Linked DNA regions of Homo sapiens: regions 2 and 3 are each linked to region 1. Evidence: promoter capture Hi-C in 16 types of primary human blood cells and fetal thymus (Javierre and others, 2016). All regions are on one chromosome and are shown on one strand. The core of a region is centred on a gene start or on the middle of the fragment in contact, and the rest is flanking DNA. Distances in the headings are between cores, read along the strand shown.

Region 1 (4,403 bases), core at 1,751-4,250:
TGTGACTCAAGTGGAAAGGGCTGCATCAGGCTTGAAATACTAGCCATTAAAAGCACCACACACATTTCTATTGTTTCTGTTCTGTATTTACCAAGCAATCTTCTGATTATAATTTGGATTTAGCCTTCATTGTAATTTGGTCAATACAAGGAAGATAATGACCAGCAAACTCAACTATCCTAGCTTCCCCATAATTGTGTTTCTCATAAATAATACATTAGTATTAATGGCTTTTACACAGCATTTTATTAGCAGTTTGTGGTGGGTAACTCAGTACTCCAGAGTCCAGTCACTTCCAGACCTGATAAACCAATTTCAAGCCTATAAAAGAATCAGATATTGAAACTCAAGTAATCACACTATGGGCCTGCCAGGCTGGCATACATCTGTGGCACGCCAATGTGGCTTTTCCCAAGCAATACCCCTCTCTGAATGCAGTTTCCATTCACATTTCCATAATTCTGTACTGCATTTTGTCTTCTGCCTGTAGACTCAGATTCTTGAGAACAGAGAATGGACCTTATCTGTATCCTTATACTAATAAAGTTCCTAGCATAAAGGAAATAACCCAATAAATATGTAACAAATGAAAATAAAACCTAACCTAGTAGGACATAATTAGGAAATAAATATTGAAAAATAGGATTTGGGCCAGGCGTGGTGGCTCATGCCTGTAATCCCAGCACTTTGGGAAGCTGAGGCAGGTGGATCACGAGGTCAGGAGTTCAAAACCAGCCTGGCCAACATAGTGAAATGTCATCTCTACTAAAAATACAAAAATTAACTGGGAATGGTGGCAGGCACCTGTAGTCCCAGCTACTCGGAAGGCTGAGGCAGGAGAATCGCTTGAACCCCGGAGGTGGAGGTTGTAGTGAGCTGAGATGGCACCACTGCACTCCAGCCTGGCAACAGAGTGAGACTCCATCTAAAAAAAAAAAGAAAGATTCTTATATGTTTTAATATATAATATGTATTAATAATAAAATTTTCCTCTGAAGGCTACAAATGGAAAGCTAGACACACAATATCTGAGACCAAATAAGCATATCTAGATTCAGCTGGAACTCTCGATTTATGTTGAACTTACATAGGCCATATTTTTTGAGAATGCCCATGAGTGGCATTCTAACTATCTGCATAAAAGTACAGACAGGCCTCAGAGAGCATACATGCCTTTCCCCCAATAACCCTCTCCTATGTTACAATAGAGAACATAAAAAATGTATATCTTTGCTAAATACATGGGACTTGTATAAGTGCCACTTTACATATATTCGGTCAAGGGAAAGATAAAATTCCATACTAATGTGCCCTAGAGTTCTCCTGTTTCACATAATAACAGCATTCGGACTCAACACTGGCCAAGAGTGCCTAGACGAGGAATCTACCAATGATAGCACACACAATAGGATCTTGCTTGTCTTGACAGCACAGAAGAGCATTGGGATATACTTGCTGAACATAATTGGAATTGTAAGAAAAATAATACCTGATGTGAAAGGTTTTATGTTCAAACTGGATTCCAGTGTATAACAGAAATAAGCTCTGACCTCTCTAACCGTATGACTAATTTTTCTTAACTTTTAGGTTTTAATTTTTCTTTTTTCCCTTGTTTAGGCCAACAGTGCACCCTAGAGAAAATGTGAGTTATTTTCTCTTCTAGCAGTTAAGAAAACAGACTCCAGTGCCAGATGTCCTGACTTCTAATCCTAGCTTTGCTTTTCCTAGTTGTGTGACCTCCAAAGCACCCAAACTCTGTGGCCCAGTTGCCTGTAAAATGAGGACAGAAACTATTTCATGGGATTTTGAAAGAAATTAATCTACAGCAGGTGCCTGGTACATAGTGCCACTTTATCATTATTGTTACACATAAATGAAATTTTTGAAAAACATAAGTTCCAAATAAAAAACCTCAACCATATTCTGGTAATTATTTACTTATTTATCTGTATCCACCTCTAGACTGTACTCTGTGGCTTCCCAACATGTTGTTATGGGATTTACTCATCTTTTATACCCAGAGCTTCACAACGTGCAAAGTGCAGGTATATATGCCAGCCCTGTACAACAGTGGATTCTAAGGTCCTTGCTTACTAAAATCTTAAATACCAGCAGGGGAAAAGCCTGACTCTTGGAATAAATCTGTCCAATGTTCAAAACAAAGTTCACAAACCAATAAAAGAAAAAAAAAAAAAAAAGCAGGTGCAAGACTTTGAAAACATACCATGCTGAATTTCATGTACATAGTAAGGAAGGACAACATAATGCATTATGAAAATAGGATGGTTTAAGGCAACTGAATATTTACCACAGCCTTTTTTTTTTTTTTTTTTTTTTTTTTGAGACAGAGTCTCGCTCTGTAGCTCAGGCTGGAGTGCAGTGGCGCGATCTCGGCTCACTGCTACCTCCGCCTCCCGGGTCCCAGTTCAAGCAGTTCTCCTGCCTCAGTCTCCCGATTTTTTTTTTTTTTAATTGTAAAAATAAGCCAGCCCCTTTCTTCCTAGTGAAGTGGGAGAAACGGTTTACACTGTCCGATGAGAAACACTTCCGTTCTTTGGTAACCCTGCTAGGGGGCGCCGCTAGATTCCATCCTATTTCTCCGATGAAAGTATCAGGTACCTCACCCCTAAGTTTAGATTTGATGATAGTTCCCTTAAAAATGAATGACGAATAATCTACCCCATCCTTTTCTCACAGTAGCAACCAAATTCCAGCCAAGGGCAAAAAAAAAATTTCTTTTTAATGTAGCTTAGTGTTTGGAACTTGATGTTGTGTAGTCAGACAAACCTGTATTCGGCCTCCGCTGGATCAGTCACTAGCTGTGTAATTTTACAGAACTCTCATCACCTGCAAATCTGGGGGAAATGCAGGTGCGCACAGAGAGCGTTTTGGGCAAAGACGGCCTTTAAGCTTTTCTTCACTAAGCATGCCGCTCGCTAGCGGAACAGCAGCCAGCTCTGGACGGGACCTTGCACAGTTCCGATGACATCACTTCCGGGCGCCAGGTTCGGGCTTTCTCCTGCAGCGATAAGGGCAGTCGACAGTCTTTAGTAGGGAAAGGAGACAAGTGCTAGCTACTGCCGCCCAAGTGGAAGGTGGGTGAAATTGCTCACTCTTCACCCCACTGACGCTTTTGCGCACCTGGAAAAGCGGTTCCAGTTTGCGCCCGTCGCCGCCTTACAGCCGACAGGAGACCAGCGCTACCCAAGTCACGTGGGTTCAGCCTGCAGCTTTCTTGGCCCGAAAGGGTAGTGCTTCGTACAATCCTCCTTGTCCAGATTTTGTTAATGCAAATCTAATTCCTCTAGGTTGTGTCTGTCTGGGCTGCACTGCCCGCAACTGCCTTCTGCAAATAGGTCGCTCATCTCTAATCCCTGGGATGCCGTGTCCCTTTAGTGTGGTGGAGAAAGGCCCTGCTTTAACACCCAGAAAGTTTTAGAACGGATGATCTGGGGGCATAAAATTAGGTGCTTCGCAGTGTGAAAATACTAGTGTGCTTTAGTGATGGGCTGCTATTATTTTGGGGGAAAAGGATTTGGGAAGATCCTTGTTATGACAAAACCTGTAGCAAAAAGTGGAGATTTAATTCCAAAGATTGCAATTAAGGATAAAATAGGTGTTAGGTTGCAGTTGGCGTGTGTGTGTTTATGTTAACTCTTGTTTTTGAACCAAATGATCCAGTTTTATTTTGAAAGATGTTTTTAGGAGATGGAATACATTAACAGTATTTTTATCTGTTCCATCTGCCTTTGTTGTTTGATTCTTTTTAGAAAATCCACATTTTGTCTTAATTTTAGCTGTCAAAAAATAAATAGCACTTTTCAGAGGACTCTATCAATTATTGTACTTTATATTAGCTGTCTTAATAGTAAGTCTTTTGGTAGGAACAGCATGCAAGTAATAATAATACTAAAAAATTTTATATCTGACCCCTGTTTTCCCCCTTGGAGAACATTATATTCATTCATAATATTATTTATATTCCCATGTTGCTATAGCCTTTACAAACTTTTGGTGACTTTTACAAACTTTCCTGTAATTCTGTAAAACTATATATTGAAAAATAAGCTGGCTAATGTCAGTTGCAAATAATAAGTTGTTTCTGTAATTCTTTTTCAGGAATTATCTATAGAGTAAGTATGCTAATCTTGACTAAGACTGCAGGAGTTTTTTTTAAACCATCAAAAAGGAAAGTTTATGAATTTTTAAGAAGTTTTAATTTTCATCCTGGAACACTATTTCTTCATAAAATAGTATTGGGAATTGAAACTAGTTGTGATGATACAGCAGCTGCTGTGGTGGATGAAACTGGAAATGTGTTGGGAGAAGCAATACATTCCCAAACTGAAGTTCATTTAAAGTAAGTAGACATTATCTTAGTCATTTCCACTTTTTTGGAAAAA
Region 2 (4,374 bases), core at 734-3,233, 1.1 Mb before region 1:
TTTTTTTAGATGAGGTGGAATCTGAGCTAAACCTGAAAGATGGGTAAGAGCTGGAAGCATGGCAACAGAAAAAGATTTCTGGCAAACAGACCAAAGGGATGAAAGTAAGCATTCACTTAGTGTTTATAAAGAACAAAAAACAGCTAGAGCACAGAATGTGTGAATTAAGGTGCCTGTTTCTACCTATAGGCTATTATATGAATACTTAATTTTTTAGTGTTGAGAATATATATATTCTGAATATATATATCTGAGGTAAATGAGGAGACTACCTTCCAAAATCTACATTAAGTTTAAATGCAGGGCCAACTTCTGCAACATGAAAAGAGGAACTGTCTTTGCTTACCCCACTGACCAAATTAGTTTCCCCATACCAAAGGGGGAATTCATACTCCTCAGTCTGGTATGCAGTTCTCTATAAATTAGTTTTACACTATTTATTCCTAACTTAATCCTTATAATTCCCCAATGTAATTGACTAGACTCAATGACCTGTAAATAAGTGCTATCTCATCTTTTTTTTTTTTAACCTATCATGCCTTCTGTGTAAAACCTTCCTCTCCCTAAATCTTAAGCTATCAATGATCATTTCAATTGTTTCACAGGACTTTGCCCCCACCAGATTCTCTATACTCTTTAGCATTCTCTGGTATCACTAAGTTTTGTCCTTTTCTTGTACCACTTATTATATGCCAAGCAATAGCAATAAAGATCCCTAAAGTAAGGTTGTGGTCTAGGAGAAATATGACTAAAGCCATGAGACAAATACTATGGTAGAAGTGTTTTTCAAAAAGTATTTTATTAGCAAGTACAGATGAAGTATTTAATTTTGCCTTAATCGGTAGGGGAAATCAAGAAAGTTTCTAATCTGTAATTAGGAGCAACAAGGCAAACTCATCTTCATCAGTTCAAAAATCTTATAAATAAAAAACTATCAAATGAAAGGAAGAAAATAAAAAAAAAATCCTTACTAAGAACTACAAAATGAACAGAGGAAAATAATTGAAACCAACTGTATGGTCTTATTTTGTTAAATAACATTTCATATTACCTAACCTCCCCAAACTATAAAGCTTCAAGGCTGGGGTCAAGTCTTTCTTATTTTTTTTTTCGCATAACTCTTAAAACACATAGTATAGTATGGTAAACCTATGAGACAATGAAAAACTGTCTTTTCAAGTGGGATTAAAAAAAATGAGGCCTAATAATAACACAATACAAAAGGATTTGCTAGTCTTTATGCCTTCATTTAAGAATAATGATCCTTCAGATGATAATTCAGGGTTGTTTTAAAATCAGTGTATCATTTTGAATTTATAGTGAGCTGACTGATAACAACCGTCTATCAACACCAGCAAACTGGCAGATTAATAAACCTGTTAGATAGAAAGTTGAATTGATGGTGGCTGACCATATAGTAAAATAGCATATGAGAATGAATGTTAAGTCTAACAAATTGACAAATTCTAGTTATCATCCAAGTGATTTTGCCCCAAGGCTAATCATTGGTTGAATTTAAAAATAAAAACTTACATCTTTTAAGGCTTTACTGCTAAAAAAGGACTCTCACTTTCTATCATATTAAAACCCTATGAGGTAAATTAAGGTGGGTTAATTGTCCCCAGTGTACAGATAAAAGAGAGTCCTAGAAGAGTGTGGTGGCATGCACCTACAGTCCCAGCTACTTGGGAGACTGAGGCAAGAGGACTGCTTGAGCCCAGGAGTTCAAGGCTGCAGTGAGCTATAATGGCACCAATGTACTCCAGCCTGGGTGACACAGCAAGATTCCATTTCTAAAAAAAGAAAGAAAATGTTAATTTAAATTTTAAATTTAAAAAAAATTTTGTTTTAAGAGTATCCAAGTCAAGCAGAATGTCCAATGTCACATAAATCTTAAGTGGCTGGACCAGAATTAGTCCTACAAAGCTCATCCTTTGTTCCCAGTTCCAGACTCTTCCTGCTCTGCCACCTCATGCTCTCAGTGGTTAGCACTCTATTTTAGGAATAATATCTGTAATTCTTAAACAATAATAAATTTCTAACCAAAATGCACATAAGAGAACTAAACTGGTCTGCCTTGATAAAACTGCATCCTGTCAAAGCAAAGATGAGATTATATTCAATTAGTGCTGCTGTTTTGACTGGACTTTATAGCACAAATTCATTTAATAGCACACCAAAGTAAAAAGCACAAAAGCCACTTTATGTGAGGAAATGGTCAGGCTGCCCCTGTCAGCTCATGGTAATTTGTCCATACGTTTGCACAACTTCAGAAGTTTGACCCAAAAGGCAGTCTGGCTGTCTCGGGTGGGAAGACTAGGATCTGGGGAGATCAAGTCTATAACATCCAACTCTGTTAGTTTTTCCAATAACTCATTTCTTCAGCCAAGTATCCTTTAATATATCAGTCTAGATGGAATAATACAGATACTATATGAATTCTGTCACTGCAATCACTCTGATACCACTATAGACAACTTGTTCAGAATAACTAACATATATAGGTAGAAGTTAATGAAAAACTTCAGCCACACATAAGGAAAAATGAAACAGCTATGAAAACGGAATGGGCTGCCTTCTAAGGGAGTGAACTCCCTTGTGAAGGCAGTATTCAGGTAGAGATGAATAACAACAACCTATAGGGAGTATGTAACAGAAGAGAAGAAAGCAGCAGCTGGGGAGAAGGGTTTGTAAGATCTCTTATAATCCTCAATCTAAAAAAATTAACTCTATAAATTGAATTAGTTTGCTGCTAATAGATGAAAAATAAAAAATCAAAACAAGTCCTAATACTGTCTGAACTTGTTTAGGTCATTTAATATCTGCGGGCAGCTTATATAATACGTAAAATGAGCTGGAATTAAATGTTCTTTAAAGTTACTTCCAAGCTTAATTCTCAGTTTTTGAGTTGCTAAAAATAGATGTCCTCCAAATCACTACACTAAAGTGAGATCATAAACTTTATTCACTCACAACTTACATACTTTTATTTTACACATTAGCATATTCATCTGGGTTCTAAAACTAACAGAAGTATTTAATGCCACTGAACTAGGGAACTTAAAAATGGTTAAAGTGGTAATTTTTATGTTATGTATATTTAACCACAATTTTTTGAAAAAGCTAAGCAGAACTGGATACAGAAGGTAAGAGTGAAGGAGGATAGCTAAAGTAGAGACATGAAGAACAGTCAACTGATACAAGATACAAAAATCCACAAAAGAACAAACCCACCCTTAAGAGTACTGGTTAAAGCAGAACCAATCAAGGCATGAGAGAACTTACCAATAAATATATTTTAGTGTAGGGCTACGCAAACTACAGCAGGGACCTCCTCTTTTTGTAAATAAAGTTTTATTGGAAGACTGCCACATCTATTTACCTATTGTTTGCAGCTATTTTGCTACCACCACTGAACTGAGAAGTTGTAGTAGTGACTAGAGAACCCCAAAAGCTGAAAATATTTACTATTTGGCCTTTCAGGGAAAGTGTGCCAGCACTTGTCTTACAGCATCACTGTATTACAGTGCAGTATAATAATGCATCCTTAAAATACACATAAGTTGAACAAGAAATGTTAAACTCTATTGATTACAATGTTTTAATATGGCAGAGAAATATGTAACATTTACTAGGGAGATATATCAAGCATAGTTTTAAATTTTTAAAGTTTGATGTTTAAGGGTACCAGTGAATATGATTAGACAATGCTGATAAACAGGAGCTGTGCAAATTCATACATAACCTATTTTCATACTTTTCTTTCAATGTAATGGTGCTTACTGTTCTTATACAACCAGAATCAGGATATTAGAAGAGTAGACAGTAGAGATTTACAAGTTCAAAACTTAACAGATGTGGTTCCTTTGATTTTCAAAACTATGGAATGTTTTTTACTGTTTTAGACGTTTCCCACTTATAATGGGGGGGAAATCTTAAAAGTAACAAAAGGAGGCAGGAAAAACAATGCTCGTTCTCATAAACCACAACTGCTAATGTCATTTTGGCTTATTTCCTTCTATTACTTTTTCTGAGCTTTTTAAATAGCTTGAGATCATACTGCATAGAAAATTCTGTATTCTAACTTTTGGCCGTTATAACATTACCTTATATCCTAAAAAGTACCTGCAAACATTTTAAATGACTAAATAAGAGACCCTCATATGAATGTACCACAATTTACTTAACTATCCCACTAATGTTGAACATGCGTTTTTCTCCATTTTTCTCTAGTATGCATAACACTGTACCAAAAATAATAGGAAATAAATCTTTCTAACACTTCAGTTTATTTTGTGAACTTAGATTCCTAAAAAGGTATGAATACTTTGTAAGTTCCTCATAGAGCTTAAAAATTGCTCTTCAGAAAGTTTA
Region 3 (4,059 bases), core at 1,560-4,059, 1.2 Mb before region 1:
ATAGATAAGGAGTTATTTTCATAGAACAGAAACAGGACTTGAGCCTCCAGCACAGTCCATTGTGCAACCATTGCTTAATGAGGATGCTGGACTCACACTTGTGAGATCATAATATGGTTTGCTTTTTACTTTCTAATTCCGTCTGAAATATACATAATTTCAATTCAACAAACTGTTTCGAGCACATAGTATATGCAGGGCACTGTCCAAGGTCCATAAGATGTTAAAAAGCAAAATACCCCACTACTCTACCCCCTCCCCACCCACCTTCCCCCGCCGGGGACTCTGGAGGCATCACAGAGCTTTACAAGGAAAACTGGAACCGATGCTCTAATAGAGGTACAGAATTCAGTGAGACGCAAGTCAAAGAAAGCTTAATTGTGAGTAAGTCTCAGACAACTTTATGAAAGAAGGGGCTTTTGTACATAGCTTTGAATGCTATAGGATTTAGAGACGCAAAAATTTGTGGAGAGGCTGTTTCCAAGGGCGAGTAGCTGGAGCAAAGCAGAAATGTTGGGCACAGTTGAAAAACAGTAAATGATTTGGTGACTGGGTTGCTTTGTTGATGGATGAAGATGGGGTGGGGTGGAAATCTGCCTAGGAATGGACAGATCATAGGATTTTTGCACAGGAGATTGATGTGGTCCAATCTGTGGGCAGCAGAGGCTGGACTGGGAAGGTAGAATGTTGGAGACAGGAAGGAGCAGGTCTTGGGATGGAGTGGAAGGAATCAACCCTAAATCTGAGATTTGAGCTCAGTGACTGGGAGATGGCCATGCCACTCCCTGAGTTGGTAACAGGTTTTGTGAGTAGATGAGACTGACTCCAGATTTGTGAACATGAGCTTATTTATTCATTGTTTTTTTTTTTTAGAGACAGAGTCTCTCTCTGTCTCCCAGGCTGGAGTACAGTGGCGCGATCTCAGCTCACTGCAACCTCCGCCTCCTGGGTTCAAGCAATTCCCCTGCCTCAGCCTCACGAGTAGTTGGGACTACAGGTGCACACCACCATGCCCTGCTAATTTTTTTTTGTATTTTAGTAGAGACAAGGTTTCACCATGTTGCCCAGGCTGGTCTTGAACTCCGGAGCTCAGGCAATCCGCCCACCTTGGCCTCCGAAAGTGCTGGGATTACAGGCGTGAGCCACCTGGCCAGCCCAAACATGAGCTTATTAATTCACCTCTTCTGTGCCAGGTGCTACATATGTACTAGCTCAACCAGCCTTAAGAACCAACTGTGGCAGGGTGCGGAAGCTCACGCCTGTAATCCCAGCACTTTGGGAGGCTGAGGTGGAAGGATTGCCTGAGGTCAGGTGTTTGAGACCAGCCTCAGAAACATAACGAGAGGCTGTCTCTACAGAAAATTTAAAAATTAGCCAGGCTTCTTGGCTCGTGTTTATTGTATTAGTCTGTTCTCATGCTGCTATAAAGAACTGCCCGAGACTAGGTAATTTATAAAGTGAAGAGGTTTAATTGACTCACAGTTCTGCATGGCAGAAGGCATCTCTTCACGGGGCAGCAGGAGAGAGAATAGATGCAAGCAGGGGAAATGCCAGTGGCTTATAAAACCATCAGATGTCATGAGGCTCACTCATTATCACGAGAACAGCATGGGGGAGACTGCCCCCATGATTCAGTTACCTCCACTGGTCCCGCCCTTAACACATGGGAATTATATTACAATTCGAGGTAAGATTTGGGTGGGGGCATAGAGCCAAACCATATCACTTGCAGTCTGAGCTCCTTGGGAGGCTGAGGTGGGAGGATTGCTCTAGTCCAGGGGTTGGAGGCTGCAGTGAACTGCGCTCCACTGCCACTGCGCTCCAACCTGGATGACAGAGCAAGTTCCTGTCTACTAAACACACACACACACACCTTGTTGATAGGGGAGTAAGTTACCTGGGTTCGCTTGGCTAATAAGAGGCGTTGCAGCTCCCATTGCCTGACGGTCCAGCATATCTGCTTTAGGTAGATCCTTATTAGTTACCAAGCAGGGAGGGAGACAGCCACAGATTTTTCCACTCAGGTAAAATAAAACTGAACTGAAAAATCAAATTGCTTCAGCAGGAGTGCCAAGGGGCTGGGCTTGGGTCCGTTTCTACTGGTATATATGAGGATAACTAGCTTTATAGGCCAGACATTTCCTCACACTCCTTTGGAAGGACATTTGTGGAGTAGGCGTGACCTCATGCCTGCATACATGTGCTCGGCTACAAGTATGCATACACACTCTTCCATGCCCTACTTGAAAATCCAGACTCCTTCCCCAGAGGTCTGGCAGGACAAGATTCACTTGTGTCTGCTCTGCATATTGCCACCTGTGTGCTGATATAAATCCTAAGTTACATGATGGTCATGGGAGACTCTCCGTTTTCCTAATGAATTTTAGGACTTGCTTATATCAAGTTTTTGTTGTGATTTTGAATCTTTAGGATCACTATGTAAAAATGGACTTAACAGTTATCCAAAAAGCTAAGTGTTACTTTATCCTTTTAAATTACATTTAATGATGTTTTAATCTTTAAAAATCATTACTTCTTTATGCCAGATTTATTGTTTGTAGTAGGCAAAGAAGAAAATATATCTTTTTAAATGTGTATAAGAAAAATAATGAATTTTACCATATGAATCATAAATATAAAACAGAAGTTTGAAAATATTTGAGTTAAATTACAAATGTACTGTGATTTGTAGGAGAGCAATTTTGGGAGAGTCTTGTGATTTGTCTTAAAGCAAGTCTAATTAAAATAATGTTTTTCATGTATTTATTTGATAAAATCACAAACTCATTTTAAAGGCATATTTATTGGATACCTACTATGTGGTTGACATTGTTCTAGGGATACACCAGTGCACAGAATCCTCCACCAACATCCATCCCTTCAAGTGGTGAAAACAGACAATAATGAAAATAAAATATGTGGTAGGTCAGATGGTGGTGTAAGTACTATGAAGAAAAATAAACCAGGGAAAAGAGAGAGCATGTTTCCAGGGTGGGAGGTGGTTGCAGTTTAAATAAAAGAGGCCAGAGAAGGCTGCCCTGATATGTTGACAATAAGCAAAGACATGAAGATGTGTTTCGTGGAGGAGAAAAAAAGTTCATCCCCAAACTCAATTAAAAACAGGCTTTAGACTATAAATGCCATTTAAATAAAATATTCCTGGGACAAACTATGTTTTGGATTAAGCAAGATATTTAAGAGTACAACCTGATGCTAGGAAGGCTTTCTTTGGAGCTATGGTTTCCATATACATAGAAAGAATGTATATTCTTTTTCCCTATAGGATGTCTCAGTGGTACGAACTTCAGCAGCTTGACTCAAAATTCCTGGAGCAGGTTCACCAGCTTTATGATGACAGTTTTCCCATGGAAATCAGACAGTACCTGGCACAGTGGTTAGAAAAGCAAGACTGGTAAGGAAAATTCACTAGACAGAAGAAGAAGTTTACACCTTAAAAGTACTGGTTGATTAAGTGACTTGGGGCCATGTTTACTGGAAGATGAATTCCATCAATGGCCACTGGAATTATTTGTTGTAGAAAAGTTTGTTGATTTAAAAAATGACTCAACAAAGTTGAGCCAAAAAGTGTCTCAACAAAGTTAAGTATATTAGTCATTAAGCACTTTTATACAGTTTTGCCAAATTTAATTTATGATAGATATTCCTAAATGCTTTGGACAAGTTACGGAATACTGACACCGATTATTTTCCAACTTAGGATCCAGACTATAGAAAGAAGTAATTTAAAAGAAATAAAGCCAAATTAATGGTTAAACATTGATTAGAAATATGAAGAAGGTAGTAAAATTAAGGGGATTTTTTTTAACTGATAGGTGTTCTACTTTAAAATTTATTATTTGCTAATTTAAAAACGTCCTGAAAGTATTTGACATAGAAAGTGAAGGGTCCCCTGTTGACTTTTCCCCCTTCAGAGATAGTCACCATGAACACTGTCATGCACAATCTCTTAGAGTTTAGAATTTTTTGTGCTAATTGCACATAAGAGAAATACCACATAAACTGCTGCTAAAAGCAATGTCAGTTTCAAAAGAAGAAAAT

The links. The method cuts DNA at HindIII sites, captures the fragments that hold promoters and counts their contacts. A CHiCAGO score of 5 or more calls a contact.
Region 2: a contact is called between a fragment that was not itself captured here and the fragment with the promoter of OSGEPL1-AS1 in region 1, in 1 of 17 cell types (fetal thymus). The highest score is 5.3, in fetal thymus.
Region 3: a contact is called between a fragment that was not itself captured here and the fragment with the promoter of OSGEPL1-AS1 in region 1, in 1 of 17 cell types (fetal thymus). The highest score is 5.7, in fetal thymus.

What each region holds. Positions count from the first base shown.
Region 1 is chr2:189,761,377-189,765,779 of GRCh38, reverse strand. It overlaps OSGEPL1-AS1 (OSGEPL1 antisense RNA 1), which reads right to left and starts at 3,000. Exons shown (of 2, transcript NR_102429.1): 1 at 2,788-3,000; 2 at 224-925. It overlaps OSGEPL1 (O-sialoglycoprotein endopeptidase like 1), which reads left to right and starts at 2,988. Exons shown (of 9, transcript NM_022353.3): 1 at 2,988-3,095; 2 at 4,120-4,360. The coding sequence starts at 4,140. It also overlaps a transcript of ANKAR not described here and a transcript of ORMDL1 not described here. RefSeq lists enhancers at 2,313-3,059, 3,346-3,505. The HindIII fragment of the contact is 3,776 bases long and covers 2,913-4,403 here.
Region 2 is chr2:190,887,622-190,891,995 of GRCh38, reverse strand. All of the region lies in intron 1 of GLS (glutaminase), which reads right to left. Among named protein-coding and RNA genes, the nearest start is that of GLS, 9.0 kb to the right of the region's middle. The HindIII fragment of the contact is 1,815 bases long and covers 1,076-2,890 here.
Region 3 is chr2:191,009,229-191,013,287 of GRCh38, reverse strand. STAT1 (signal transducer and activator of transcription 1) reads left to right here. Exons shown (of 25, transcript NM_007315.4): 3 at 3,284-3,412. The coding sequence starts at 3,285. Among named protein-coding and RNA genes, the nearest start is that of STAT1, 2.9 kb to the left of the region's middle. RefSeq lists enhancers at 876-935, 976-1,035, 1,464-1,553, 1,854-1,963. The HindIII fragment of the contact is 4,868 bases long and covers 376-4,059 here.